Linked DNA regions of Homo sapiens: region 2 is linked to region 1. The links are contacts of gene promoters, found by promoter capture Hi-C in blood cells and fetal thymus (Javierre and others, 2016). All regions are on one chromosome and are shown on one strand. Each heading gives the region's core, a stretch centred on a gene start or on the middle of the fragment in contact. The rest is flanking DNA. Distances are from core to core; before and after follow the strand shown.

The links. The method cuts DNA at HindIII sites, captures the fragments that hold promoters and counts their contacts. A CHiCAGO score of 5 or more calls a contact.
Region 2: a fragment that was not itself captured here is called in contact with the fragment with the promoter of MAST4-AS1 in region 1 in 3 of 17 cell types (megakaryocytes, endothelial precursors and activated CD4 T cells); the score reaches 6.8 in megakaryocytes.

What each region holds. Positions count from the first base shown.
Region 1 is chr5:66,999,373-67,006,642 of GRCh38, forward strand. It overlaps MAST4-AS1 (MAST4 antisense RNA 1), which reads right to left and starts at 4,782. Exons shown (of 2, transcript NR_111908.1): 1 at 4,472-4,782; 2 at 2,246-2,677. All of the region lies in intron 4 of MAST4 (microtubule associated serine/threonine kinase family member 4), which reads left to right. RefSeq lists a silencer at 4,660-4,999. The HindIII fragment of the contact is 7,419 bases long and covers 1,632-7,270 here.
Region 2 is chr5:67,133,301-67,140,570 of GRCh38, forward strand. It overlaps MAST4 (microtubule associated serine/threonine kinase family member 4), which reads left to right. Exons shown (of 29, transcript NM_001164664.2): 17 at 214-346; 18 at 1,223-1,388; 19 at 3,263-3,364. Among named protein-coding and RNA genes, the nearest start is that of CD180, 60 kb to the right of the region's middle. The HindIII fragment of the contact is 165 bases long and covers 3,640-3,804 here.

The sequences.
Region 1 (7,270 bases), core at 3,532-6,031:
TCTAATTATCAATCATACATATCAAGGAGTCACTCACTGCCTTGGGAGATAAGTGCTTCATTTCCCATATCTATGCACTGTCTTCTCTTATATTTTGTTAGCTTATAGGTTATCTGCTAATCTTTTCCGTGTCTCTGATTCTCCTGGGATCCAGAGAATGCCTGAGAAAGACCTTGCATTCTCTTCCCATTCTGGCCAGTCTTTAGCATGTCCTTTACTTGCTTCAGACTGTATCCTTTACACTACCTTCGGAGATTGTGTAGTTCTTTGCTCAACCCATCAGGAAATAGAATTCTTATTTTGTTTCCTTTGTTTTGGGTTTTTTTTTTCCTTTTCCTTTTTTGCTTCCAGGATAATGTTTCTTTCATTTTACTCATTCACTTTAAAAATCTGAACCTCTCTTACCTTGTGGCATTATTTTAAAATATTTTTTGGTATTTTCCAGGATGATACAACCTTGCCTATTATCTGTCTTAGTTTTCAGCATTCAGGCCTATCCCTACAAGTTAATTGTTGTCTATCTTTTTATCTTTCTCCATATTTTAGCATTGTGAGTGCAAATTTGTTTAATAATATTAGAAACGCTTTCTTCAACCTGTTCCTCATTGATGTAACTTTCTTCCCATTTCTGTCCCAGTATTAAACTTTATTTCTTGGGATGTACAAAATGATTACAAGGATTGCTCATTCAGGACAGCCAGTTTGCTGTTCACAGTTCTAGCCTCAAACTCTCAAGACCACATTTAGAAGGTGACCAAAGTGGACTTGAAGGTGTGGACAGCCCTAGGGAACTAGTCACTTCTAGGTGCCCTGAAAATGGGGATGGGAAGATGTCAAAGTTAGTTTAGGGCAAAATCCTTAGAATAGGCCAGGATCAGGTAGAGTGCTTAGGAAATCTCAACTTAGTGTCTTATTGGGCATGGCCTCATGGCCCGAGTGTCCTGCACAGGGAGCTGACAGCTTTGCAGACTTCACATCCACACTAGAAAACTAAGTCTTTTCATAGAATCTAAGTTCAAGACAAGACTCCAGGCATATTATCTTTTAACATTGTTCTACGTGGACTGGAGAAAACCCCTTCTTAAAGGGCATGTGTTGCCGGCTGTGGTGGCTCACGCCTGTAAGCACTTTGGGAGGCTGAGGCGGGTGGATTACCTGCAGTCAGGAGTTCGAGACCAGCCTGCCTAACATGGTGAAACCCCGTCCCTACTAAAAATACAAAAAAATTAGTTGGGTGTGGTGGCGACTGCCTGTAATCCCAGCTACTTGGGAGGCTGAGGCAGGAGAATCGCTTGAACCTGAGAGGCAGAGGTTGCAGTAAGCCAAGATCGCGCCACTGCACTCCAGCCTGGGCGACAAGAGTGAAACTCTGTCTAAAAAAAAAGGGGGGGGGTGGCTTGTGTCAACAGGTGGGCAGTAGACAGAATTCAAGTCAGTAAAAAGGACCTGGCATTTTTTGTATGTAGAAGGGGAGGTAATAGTGAAGGATTTGACCCTTTCTTAAATACTTATTTCTTCCTAAGCTTGCATTTCAGTAGGATGACAAGCTTGTTTTTTAGTTTCATTTACCTTACAAAACCAATGGCTAACAATGTCATCCTGATTAAATGAATGAAAGTTCTGAACCACAAAGCTTGTCCATTGTTGTATAGGCTTAGTTGTTACACAATAGAAAATCCTGCTGAATATCTCTATATTGACCTAGACCAGCTATAGTCTTAAGAATTTCCAGTAATCTCAGTTCCCTCTTTGTTCTGCAGTTGAGTTTTACTGCAGTCGCAACTATAGTTTCTGCCCATATAATTATTTTGTAGGAAAATGTCAGTAGTTTTGACAATTTTAATTCTTGTGTTTACCGACTGCTCTGCCTTCTGAATCATATGTAACCAAATCAAGTCAAACAGGTTAGAAGACAACTCACACTTCAGTGTCATCTGTACTCTTATCTTCATGAGTGTGGGAATGTACAATCCACTTTCGCTCACTATATTAATTCATTCTGGTTCCTCATGTACTTAACCTATTTTTATTTTTTCAGTTTGGATACAACCCAAATCCTCTCAAGCCTTTTAAATGCAAAAAAAAAAAATAAATTTAAAGTATATGTAGTTAAAAATACTCATGTCTTTACCCATTCCTTTGAGAATTTCTGTAGAGGCTTTCTCAAAATGCAGAGAGTGGAGGCAGTCATAACATATGATGCCTGCAGATTGGGGTATCTGTCATTTAATCAAGAGAAGAAATAAACATTTTATGTCATTGATTTATCCATTTTAGTTGCTATCATCTTTATAGGTTATGCCCCAATACATGGGCTTTTCTAGAAAAACTATAGAGAATATGAGAGTTGGGAGGTATTGGAGTCCTCAGGTCTTCAAACCACCTACAGGTTGTGTTCTACTCACTGTATCTCCTTCAAGTTTTCTCTGCTCAAACAGCTCTCAGAAAATCCACTCTTGTGTCAGCTCTTTCATCTTTGGATCCAAACACTCTTTCACATAGTTCTCATAGTTTCACATAGCTGTATTCAACTACTGCTTGTTCCCTAAATTTTTTCTTCTCTACTTTCCACAGAGTTCTTCAACCCATAACTTATATAGCACAAGTTCATGTCCACCTTGATTACTCTTCTCTGTGCGGCTTATAATATGTAATTGTCCCTCTTGATCTTGGATACCTACAAGTGAGCACAAAAAGTTATTCTCTGGGCTTGCCTTTGAGGAGGGGACATGGGACTCAAAGGGAATTCCCCTTGAGTTTGATTGTGACATTTCTTAGAGCCATGTAAAGACCTGAGGAATGTTAGCACTGATATCTTTCCAGCTACATGATATAGATACAAATAAGTCACTAAGAGAAAGTCTTCAGAATTTACCGTCTTCATGGGATTCTCAAAAATTCAGTATTCTTTGAGAATACAGATCTACTAGTACTAATAGTTTCAGTGCATCTTAAGAGAAATAAGAGATACTTGGGCTTCTGAAGTATCCATTCAAAAAGGATTTACTAATATTAAATGCCTATATAAACTGAGGAGCTGTCAGGTTCTGAAAATATGAAGATCAGTAAAATGTGACTTTAGCCTTGAGGAACTCAGACTAATTGGAAAGACAGCAGTAAACAGTCAATTATACACAGTGTGATCAGCAGCCTGGTTGAAGACTCTAGAGAGTAGAAAGAAGCACATTGTGGGGTGTCCTCTGCTCCAGTCTTATGTCTGTCAGCATAGTATTCTCTTAGCTTCTGTATACTGCCTACATTTATGCGCAGTGTGTGTGTAGACATTGCGTGAAAGGGCTTATGTATGCCATCTCCTCTTCATTTATGTATATCAGCCTCTTACAGGTTGGTCCTATTATGGACCCCATATTGCAGCTGGGGAAAATGAGAAGAGATTTAAGGTCATAGTAAGTGTTGTATCCAGAATTCAGACCCAAAATTTTTGCTCTAAACCAGTGCTCTGTATCACCCCTCTCAGAGAAGCCTTTATCTGGAGCAGTGGTTCCCAACCAGGGGTGATTTTACCTCCCAAGGGACATTTGGCAATGTCCTCAGACATTTTTAATTGTCAGCACTGGCATCTAGTAGGTCGAGGTCAGCAATGTTGCTAAACATCCTCCAATGCTCAAGAAAGCTCCTCAGACAAAGAATTATCCAGCCTATGTCAACAGTGCTGAGGTCTAGAAACTGCTCCGGAGCACAGGGACACTCTTTTGTGTCAGCCTTCAAAACATCTTTTGCAATACTTAGAAACATTTTTTAAAAGAAGAGCATGGGGCAAAAATGCTGGACCAAGCTCATTAATATCTATTGAAGTGTGTTTTGTCATTTAGTGTCCCTGAATGTTTGGGATAAAGTCCCAAATGTAAAATTGAGAAAATAATGCCTTCTTTGTCTACCTCTGTGGGTTGCAAGGATCTGTGGAGGCTCTGTAAGAATGTGAGGAGATAACGCATACGAAAGCCTTGGACATGAAACATCATCCAAAACTCTTGGAGTCCTTGGTGTGAAAATATTAATGTGGGCCACAAGAATTAGATAAAGAAGATCCCACAGCAGGCTTCTTTTTGTTTACCCCGCCTACCTTGTCAGCTTACACCCCCTCTTCCTTCTCTTTATCCTCCCATTTTTGTAAGCGAGTTTGTTCCTGGTATTTACTGCATGGACTAAGCCATTTTTAGATGTATTTTTTGCTGAATATATACTTTTTTGATTTAGTATTTCTTGCCATATTACACCAGACTTAAGGCAGCTAATTTAAATTATATTTTTTCTTTATGTACTTTATACAAACATTCATGGATAGGGGGAGATATTTAAATACCATGCCTTTCTTCAAAATGAATAACAAGAACATTCAGCCCCCTTCATTCTGCCCTTTCAAGGTCTAACGTACTTGAAGGGGCAATACTTGTAGCATTTGCCACATAAATGCCAGGTAGTGTCTTTCCACATCGGGGCTCACCATTACCTAGATCTGTAGTTGCCGGCCATGAAGCCAAACAGGTGTGCACCGTGGTCATTGATGGAACAGATGTAAACTCATAAATTTAGTTTACTGAGGTTTTCGGTGAGTGTGGCTTCCCGTCCGCGTGCTTTTCCTATACAACCAGCGGCGTCCTGGCGGAGGAGTCACTGTGGACTTCCCCGGAGCGTTGTCACTGCCATCCCTCCCGCGGTGAATCACAGGTCGGCCTCAGGTGCGCGCAGCACACACCCGGAGCAGCCGCGGGTTTATTTATTTATTTCCGGGACGGATCCATTCCGGGCTCCGGGGAGGGGGAGCGGCGGCCCAGGCTGCGGGGCTGTCCCGGCACCGGCTGGGGTCGCGCCGCGGCCGCCTGCTCCCTTTCCCGTGAGCCCCCGCTCCTCAGGCGCGGCCGGGGCTGGTGGGGGGTGGGGGATGCAGGAAAGCTGGGGGCGCGGCCACCAAGCTGTCCAGGGACAAGGCCCTGCCGCCTCCTCCCAGCCGGACCCTGGAAGGGTCCACAAAGGTGTCAGGTTCAAGTCCTCCAATAGGCCCATTTTTTAAAAGTGCTTTTAAGTTTCCGCTTTTTTCAGGAGGGGAGGGCAAGAGCAGCTTTTTCTATTCAAATTCTTTTCCTTGTATGTAGATACCAAAAGGAAACTCGGCACTGGGCATGTTCGGATGTGAATGGTTTTGCTGATAAGCAACAGCCTCCGGAACCAAAGCCTCAAAATAGTCGTCTCCCCCGCCCCTCGCAGAAGCGGCGAGTGGTATCTGCCAAACAGATGACAAAGTACCTCCGACTGAATCCCACAGACAGCGCTTTGAGCAGAACGCACGGCTCAACTCATGTAATTACTGTTTATAGCTGGCCGAGCCTGACTAGGAGAGGGCAGACCCGAGAGGAAATCAGTTTCCCGGACCTTTGAGAGGAGGCTGTGTGTTAATTAAAGGCTAGGACGGGACGGGTACTTCTCAGACATGCTCCAAGTTGTTCTTGAGATCACAGTTCCCATCACATTTTCTCTGGAGGGAGTGAGTAGATAATTGGGATTTTTTTTTTATTTTTGGCCTTGTCTTTCTTCCTTTTTTTTACCTCTCCCCATTTTAGTCATATGGCCTTGAACCCACAGTGAATTGAAGAGAGAAAGAAATGGATATGTCTGACCCCAATTTTTGGACTGTGCTCTCAAACTTTACTTTGCCTCATTTGAGGAGTGGGAACAGGCTTCGGCGAACACAAAGGTAAAAACGCGGGGATCTCTGCCTGGAGAGGGAATGCTTTCACTTCCCAGGGGCCCACAGGCGGAGCTGCCTGAGCCCCTCAGGAGCTGGGGTTTTGTGTATTGGGTGACACTTTGAAAAGTTTATGCCCCGCTAGGGGAGGGGGTACTGTTTCAGGTATTTCTTCGTCCTTGTGGTTTCCTGGGTAACCCTGATAAATGTGCTTCTCATAGGTTTTCTCCTTTTGAAATGTGGATAATAAGACATTTCCTTGTGAGAGGTGGGGGAGAAAAAGGGAAAGAGGAGGAGATACTTTGTCTAAGTCTGTCCCTTTGACCTGATCATGTTTATCCATTTCATTCACCCAGTCATTGAGGCTTCTGGTACTTTTCGTTGAGCCCTTCAGATGTTCCTCTCTATTAAATATTTGACCTTTATAAGATGCAGATGTACGATGCAAGGATAGCCCAGGTTAGCTATTTCATACTATCTGTGGAGAGGCAGATCTACATAACTTTGTCATTTTGATTTTTCAATGGTTTGCTGGCATTTATTACTAATACAGGAGTGTCCTTTTCATTTTGTAACGTATATTTGATAGAAAAGATGGGGAAAGAAAAAGAATTTTAATGTCAAGATGAAGCTCATGCCACAAGTGACAGGCAGTTCCAAGAGTTTGCTGACACTTGTGTTGAGAGACTATGACTTTGAAGGAGGCATTTCTCACCACATTTGTGTCCAGCACAGAAAAGTAAGATTGTTGTACTTTTAGAGGGGCACACCTTTTGAGTTGTGTTAATACTGATTCTTTGTTTTCCTTCAAAACTTGCCTTGCATGTACATGTGAACATGCATGAGAGCAACTTTGCAGTCAGATAAACAGGATGCAGGCTCTCAGATTTGGAGCTTCACAATCTCTATGCTTCAGTGTTCAAAGAACCCAAGAAAATGGTTCGTTCTTTTTGGTTATACCTGTAACTTTTTGTAGTATAAATGTGGATATGTGATACTTTAGAAAACTTAGTTTTTCCTTTTGAAGTTTTTCATGGTTTCTTACATTTCAGAAACATCCTGGAATACTCACATACACTGTTTATATACATGGGTGCACACACAAATCACATGTGCACCTGTGTGTATGAGAGAGACATCTGGCAGGTTTCAAAGTCATATTTGCTTTTTGATGCAGTTTGAAGTGTTGATACCACTAAACTATGTTGGATTCTGAAGTTGTACCTTTTAAGTAATGTGACTATGTTTTTCTCGTTCTGCCATATATGGTCAGAGACCCTCTCTTGTAGTATTGCTCATTTTGTAGTATTGCTCATCAAGTTGTGTCAACCATGCACCAAACCTCCAAGACAACTAATAAAGTTGAAGAGAGATACATGCTACACATGAACTAGGCCACTGCTCAACATGGTGATAATTCGTATGATTTCTTACCATTTCAGCTGGACAGAATCCCTTAAATATTTCTGAGTTGTGTAGTCCTGGCTGCGGTACAGCCTCTACTCTTACCTGGAACCAGTTCTTAGGGAGAGAAGTCTGTTCTGGCATCGTATGTGTGTGTCTGAA
Region 2 (7,270 bases), core at 2,472-4,971, 130 kb after region 1:
GTCTCTAGCCCTCCCTTGTGAATTACACTCAGCTGCTAGATGGAAGTATTTGACATCTTTATGTGACTCCATCTCTTTCCAGGCTGGGTTTTGTAATAAGCTTGATGCCCATATATTAAATAGTCTTAGAAACTGAGGGGGGAAGGGAGGAAATGAAAATAGATAACCAGCTTATAAAGTGATTATTGTGTTACATGTCCGTCTGCCTCATAGCTTGTTGGTTACCTCCATGGGGCACATAAAGCTGACAGATTTTGGATTATCTAAGGTGGGACTAATGAGCATGACTACCAACCTTTACGAGGGTCATATTGAGAAGGATGCTAGAGAGTTCCTGGATAAACAGGTAAGCTTGGGTGCCATTTAGTTTATTGAGAAATACAAAGTATGGTATTGCCAGTGAAGTTCAGAATCAACTTGTGTGGGCCATCTTCACATTAGTGCTGGTGGTTTAGATGTCTGTATAAACCTTACATTTAATAAAGTGCAAATTGCTCCCATTTTTCTCCCTGGGCCTCTTTGAATTGTCTGCTCCCTCTACATTCCTCCCCCAACATTATGGTCTATTAGCAAGACGAATGATCTAATTGCACACAAGTGAGAGTGTGAGAGAGACAAATGGAATACTGTTTTTGTAAGGAATTCAGGAGTCTCAGTAGAGTACTTGTGAAACTCATGATGCATTGTACCATCACGGGTGCTAAATCCAAGCCACGGCCCATTTCCCTTTAAGCATGCCTCATTACCATGTCCCCACAATCTGTTCATTGTAAAGTTACTTAAGGTAAACACATCTCAACTGTCATTGCTTTTATGAAATGACCTGTGTGTGAATATATTTTGGTCATATAGATACTAAAACTCTCTCTGACAATGACAAACTTAAAAATGCATTATTATTTTAAATTTAAGGATTATAAGTGGTTTTAATATTGTATAATAGGTAAAACTACCAAACAGGGTCAGATTCTCAATTTGAAAGTAAACATTACATATAATTTAACATTAGAGCAGAACTGTAAACTTCCCGTCTTTGGTAATAATTCTTTTCGTTGGTATTTTAAATATCTTTTTATAATTGGTGCTCTTAAGTTCTTTGTCCATGTGGTTCCATGTGGTTGAGCAGGTGCATTCTGGGCAAAATAATTGGTGACTAGCCATCTTGCTCATTTTAATTCATGTCTAATATTCCAATTATTCTAATATTGCAATTATCTTTTAGGTCTGTGGCACACCTGAATACATTGCACCAGAAGTGATTCTGAGGCAGGGTTATGGAAAGCCGGTGGACTGGTGGGCCATGGGGATTATCCTCTATGAATTTCTGGTTGGATGCGTGCCATTCTTTGGGGATACTCCAGAGGAGCTATTTGGACAAGTCATCAGTGGTAAATATCATCAGGAGTTATCTTTAGGTCACTGTTGGGAAGCAGCTATTTAATGTAAATCTGTTGAGTGTCACAGTTTTTACTACTAAAATGTTAACCTTTATCAAACAGTTGAGCCAACAAAAGAACTCACTCATCAAAGCATATAACTGACATTCTTAATCTCAAGAGAGCAATTTTTGTTGAAAATTGATCTGAAGAAATGTTGTTAACATAGAATTTGGAAATGTACTAGCAACAAAACCATTTTTTATAGTGTGCTTTTTCTGCAAAGGAAATTGGTGTGGGATTTACAGGCAATTTAATTGCCGTCCAGTCTTCCTTTCCATGATAGGAAAGTTACACCAGGGAAGAAAAGGTTAATGTGGGTAACATTTACATAAATAGGGAAAATGGCTAATGGCATAATGAAGAAGTTAACAAAAATGTAATAAACCCTAAAACAAATGTCTACCAAATAATAAATAATGAGAATGGGAAAGAAGCAAGTTGAATCCACAGATTGTTAATGATTTCATTGGTAGTTGTTATGGCGTAATGTTATTTCTGTAACAGCTGTTCATCTTTCATTTAAAATTCAATAACTTTTAGATCTTAACCTGCAAGCTGACCCTAACTATTGTATGTGGCCTGTGGCAAAACTAAATGATAATTAAATAGGGTGTATCACTACCCTACCTGCCGATTTTATAAATTTCCCTGGAACATACATCAGAAAGGCCTCTCATCTTGAAAGTTTGTCAGGCATCACTGACATCTTTATCAGCCACGTACGGTCTATTTGGACTGTGTTTACAAGGTCCAGCAGTGGAAGTAGGGGAAAAATTCATTTTGCATATGAGGGGCCCCTTTATCACGGCATTCTTTTCTATCTTTGATTTTGCAAGCCTTGCATATTTGTAAACTTTAACAAAGCAGATTTGTGAGTTGCCTGCAGTGTATGACCCCTTTATACAATATCTGAGCTGTTTATGGATTTATAACTAGGCTGTTTTCTGATATACTAAGGCCTGAATGGCAAAGGGAATCAACTGTTTAATTAACACAAGCAGCAAATGCTGGCTTTGTTCTTGATGCCTTACGGCTCAGATGCATATTCATGTTTTATTTTCCAAATCAGATTTAAACTGCAGCAGAGGAAGCTAGAGGCAGGCACACACAGAAATAACTCATGTTTTTATTGCATTTCCGTACACACAAGCACGCACACCTATCTTCAGGCAAACTCCTTCAGAATGAGAAAGTATTCTTAATATTTATGACAGATTTTAAATACTTCCATTACTATGATTACTTTGGGTTTTTTTTTCTTCTTCAGTCTTAGCACTTTGACCTGTTTGTTTGTTTGTTTGTTTGTTTGTTTCTGGAAATAGTTATTTTTACAAAATTACTTCTTGCTTCTTAGAGCTGAAGAACTCTATGGCTGTGGCCAAATTCTCAGTTGAGGAAATTAAGAGAGAAAAATCTGAACCTGAGATAATCCCTGGATGGATATATTAGCCACCTGAAATGGAAGTGTTTAGAGTTTCTATTATTTTAAGTCTTTTAATAACTAGAGAGGCAACTTTTTGGAAGCCAATTCTTTGAAAGAAAAATACATTTAAAAAGCAAATTAAAGATCTGCTTATTGAAATATTCTCTTCCTACCTTGTAAAAAATCTATGCTACTTATGTCTTGTAAAATAATGCTTCTCAAACATGACTGTGTTTAGGAATCGACTGAAGATCTTGTTGAAAGGCAGACTCTGATTTAGTAGGTCCGGAGTGGGCCTGAAATTCTGCCTTTCTGACAAATTCCCAGGTGATGTCCATGTTGCTGGGACCTGGACCCTCTTGTGAACAATATGGTTATAAACAACTTTTCTTCCTTCTAGATGAGATCAACTGGCCTGAGAAGGATGAGGCACCCCCACCTGATGCCCAGGATCTGATTACCTTACTCCTCAGGCAGAATCCCCTGGAGAGGCTGGGAACAGGTTAGAGCCCATGTGTTTTAATTTTGCTAATATGCAAGAAATAATGTCTACATGGAGCACTCTGAAGCTTTTGTTGTTGTTTTGCTTTTTGCATAGGCAACATCTGTTAGTTGATGTAGAACATGACTGCAACACATTATAGCAATAATATTTTGGATTTTGTTTTCTGATTCAAAACAGTGTGTACGCTAAGAGGGTTGGTTGTTTGTCTTTGTTTTTTGTTGTTTTTGTGTTTGGCAAAGCAGAAATTATGCTTAATTTGTTTCAATAAATAAAGCTTCTCTGGAAGAAAACCTCAAAGGCACATGTAACTCTTCTATCCCGAAAAGCATGCATCTTAAATAACTTGAAACAGAGGATTCGATATTTGGAACTCTTTTTGTTTTTGTCTTTAAATATACATCCCCATACGGATTTGACCCAGCACGTTACTATACACAAGCTTTGAAATGGGTTATCAGTACTTGGACTAATTACTAGAAATGAGTGTCTGGGGTTGAACCATGCTGTCCTGTCACAGTGATCAGCACCGTGACCCAAGAAAGAGAATTAAAAACCACTGTCTTTCAGGATTAACGAGATAGTAGATTTGTTTCTTGCTGATTATTTTTTCTGACTGTTCTGCCAGTATTTTATTCCCTTTTCTTCTCTGTATTCTGAATAGACAGACTTAGCAATCCCAGTATAGAGTCCCAGTCTGCCCAAGTATGTGAATTTATGTAGATGAGACTAAATATTAAATATAAATGCATATAGTCTAGCCAGCAGCCATAATTTTCATCAGTGAAAAGTGCTGGCTTGATGGGTTGTTTACTCTGGGCTGTTTCATTCTACCCCCATTTTAATAGAAATAACAGAAAATACTGAAGAAATCATTTTCTCCCCCATTTTTTTCCAAGACAAAAATTTGAAACAGTTCCAAATATTTATTGTATAGTATTCTCCACATTCACCCACCGATTCTCCTGTTGGAGGACCTGTTCTTACCTAAGTATAGACGAATGCTGTGCTACTAGAGTTTATGATAATGCATTACAGCAAGGGTCAGCAAGCTATGGCCAGATTTGTCCCACAGCCTGGTATGGTAAATAAAGCGTTACTGAAACACCTCCATGTCCACTCATTTAGGTATTGTATGGCTGCTTTCATGCTACAAGGGCAGAGTTAGGTAGTCATGACAGACCGCATGCCCTGCAAAGACTGAAATGTTTACTGTTTTGCCCTTTACACAAAAGCTTTCCAGACCCTGCATTAGAGAATCCAAGAAGGCTTAATATTAGGGCTTGACTAGACAACTTCTTTTAGTTGAGCCTCTCACTAGAGCACCTTGTGTCTTTTTTACCTTTTTCAGTGGTTGAGTGGACTTTTAACCTGAAAAGCCAATATAAATTGAGGTTGAGAGCATAAACTCCACAGTCAGCTAGGCTGAGTTTAAATCTCGGCTGTATGACCCTGGACAGGTTACTTCTTTTTGCATTGCTCATCTCCTCATTTGTGAAAAGGAGCTTTCCGAAGTGCTACCTCATAGGATTATTATAAGGATAAAAACAAATCATTCTAGGGAAGAGGAGGCATTCTGCTGGATGGCTTTTTAAAACATTTCCTCCAGAGTCATCTGCCTCATTAACAAGTTTTATCTTAGAATTATTTTCTAAGTTCATAAACTGACATGATTTTTTATTCTGTTATGAATGCGTACTGCCCTAGTCCTTCAATAAGCCCATAATATGTGTTTTTTGTTTGGTTTTTGGTTGGTGGGTGGGTGGGGTGGTTTGTTTGTTTGTTTAGAGATGGCATCTCACTCTGTCACCCAGGCTGGAGTGCAGTGGTGCGATCTTGGTCCATTGCAACCTCCGCCTCCCAGGTTCAAGCGATTCTCATGCCTCAGCCTCCCGAGTAGCTGGGGCCACAAGAGCATGCCACCACGCCTGGCTACTTTTTGTATTTTTAGTAGAGATGGGATTTTGCCATGTTGGCCAGGCTGGTCTTGAACTCCTGGCCTCAAGTGATCCACCCACCTCGGCCTCCCAAAGTGCTGGGATTACAGACATGAGCCATTGTGCCTGGCCCCATCATATATGTTTTAATCCCTGTTACCTGAGGTCAGGTGTGGAATTTTCCACTTGTGGTGTCATATCAGTGCTCAAAAAATTTCAGATTTTGGAGCATTTCGGATTTTAAATGTTCAGACTAAGGATGTTCAGCCTGTATTCTGTCCTGTATTTACTCCTCCAGGAAAACTTGGATCCTTGGTTGGGCTTGATTTAACTAGACAAGGATGTGATAATGATCAGCATCTCTGTGTTTATAAATCATAGGCTGCAAGTTACTTCTCTGCACATTTTCTTGTTGATTGCTACTTTCAGTCTTTTTAGGGTTTGACAGTTTGAAGAACAAATCCCCTAACAGAAATCCAGAAGAGACATTTAAAAGACCCTACCCAAGCTCTTAGAATTGTCAAGTGCTTGCCAAACAGGCCAGTCCAACATGACAGGTCCCAGTAGGGCCCAGAGACTGAGGCTGAGAATCCCGCAGGCCTGCCGTGCTGCTTCCAATGACAGCGTTTTGTATTTAATGCATATTTAGTGGGCAAAATAATGCACCGTGAAAATGTGCGAATGCACATTTGCCCAAGAGATTAGAGAGGCTGAGAAAAAGGGTGTGAAGAACATAATGGATGTTTAAGAAACTTCCATGAAAGGAGAGAAAAGGGAAAGTGTTAGTGTCAAAGCATAACTTGCAATTTGGGAGCTTGTGCTACTGGAACTACACTTTTGAACTTGTAGAATATTGAGTGGCAGCCTGACTCCCTGGACTTCAGAGCTGCTCAGATGTCACTGCTACCCATATCTTGAATAGTTTCTTCATTGTCCTGAGTCTCAGTTTCCTAGTCTATGGAAATGGGCATTTTATATACTTCACAGGATTATTGTGAGGAGTAAATGCAAAAATGTTCATTAAGGTATCTAGTTCATTTACTAAGTATCTAACAGGAGCTCAAGGTATAATGTTTCTTTTACCTTCATAATGAATTCTTACAATGAGAACTATCATTTGCATGAGTGATTTATTTTTAGCTCACGATGCTATCACCCGTATTTTACCAAAAGTTTAGTCCAGAGGTCATTTTCCCCCAATTTGTCCCTTTCTTTTCTTCCTTATCTCTCCATAAGTGCCTGAGAAACTGGACCCACTGATACCAGCTTCTCGTAAGTGAGGCACAAAGGCCAAAGGGTGAGAAATGTGAGCTAAATCAGCTATGGGCTGTAAATCCTTGAGGAGGACCCATTTGTCATTGTCTGCAGAGATGAAATGAAGGCTCTCAGCAGCTTGGGTCCCAGAGGATAGCAGGCAGGGGGTAAAACCCCTGACACTGGCTGCAGTCTGGTTGAGCTCTTGGCCCTAGAGAAACTGCTTTTCTGATAAAATCGAGCAACCCAAAATGTGAGGGCTGGGCCATTGATGTGGCCCCATGAGCAGCAGCTGAAGTGATAGTCATTGTAGTCTAGTGGAACCATCACTGCACTAGGAGTCCAGAGATGTGTGTTGTGGGCCACTAACTAGGGCTTTCCCTACCCAACACCCGCACCGTGCTGACGACCTCCATGTTGGATAGGGAAACAGTTAAGCCCTCTTAGCTTTCGTATTCTGTTTCTCCAAGTAAAAGAGCACTAGAAGAAAATAAGATGGGCAGTTGTGCATACGGACATTGATTAGGGATAGGTGAGAGCAAGGATGCATGGTGGGCTGGAGTGAGGCTCTCCAGAGGTGCTATAGAACAGCCACGTGAGTTGGCTCTTAGGCTCAGGTCCCCAGTATTGGCAGTTCTGAATCTGTTTGCAAAGCGATGCAAGAGAGGTGGTGGAGTAGGAACAAATTAAAGCATGCCTCTGCCTTATATGTGGC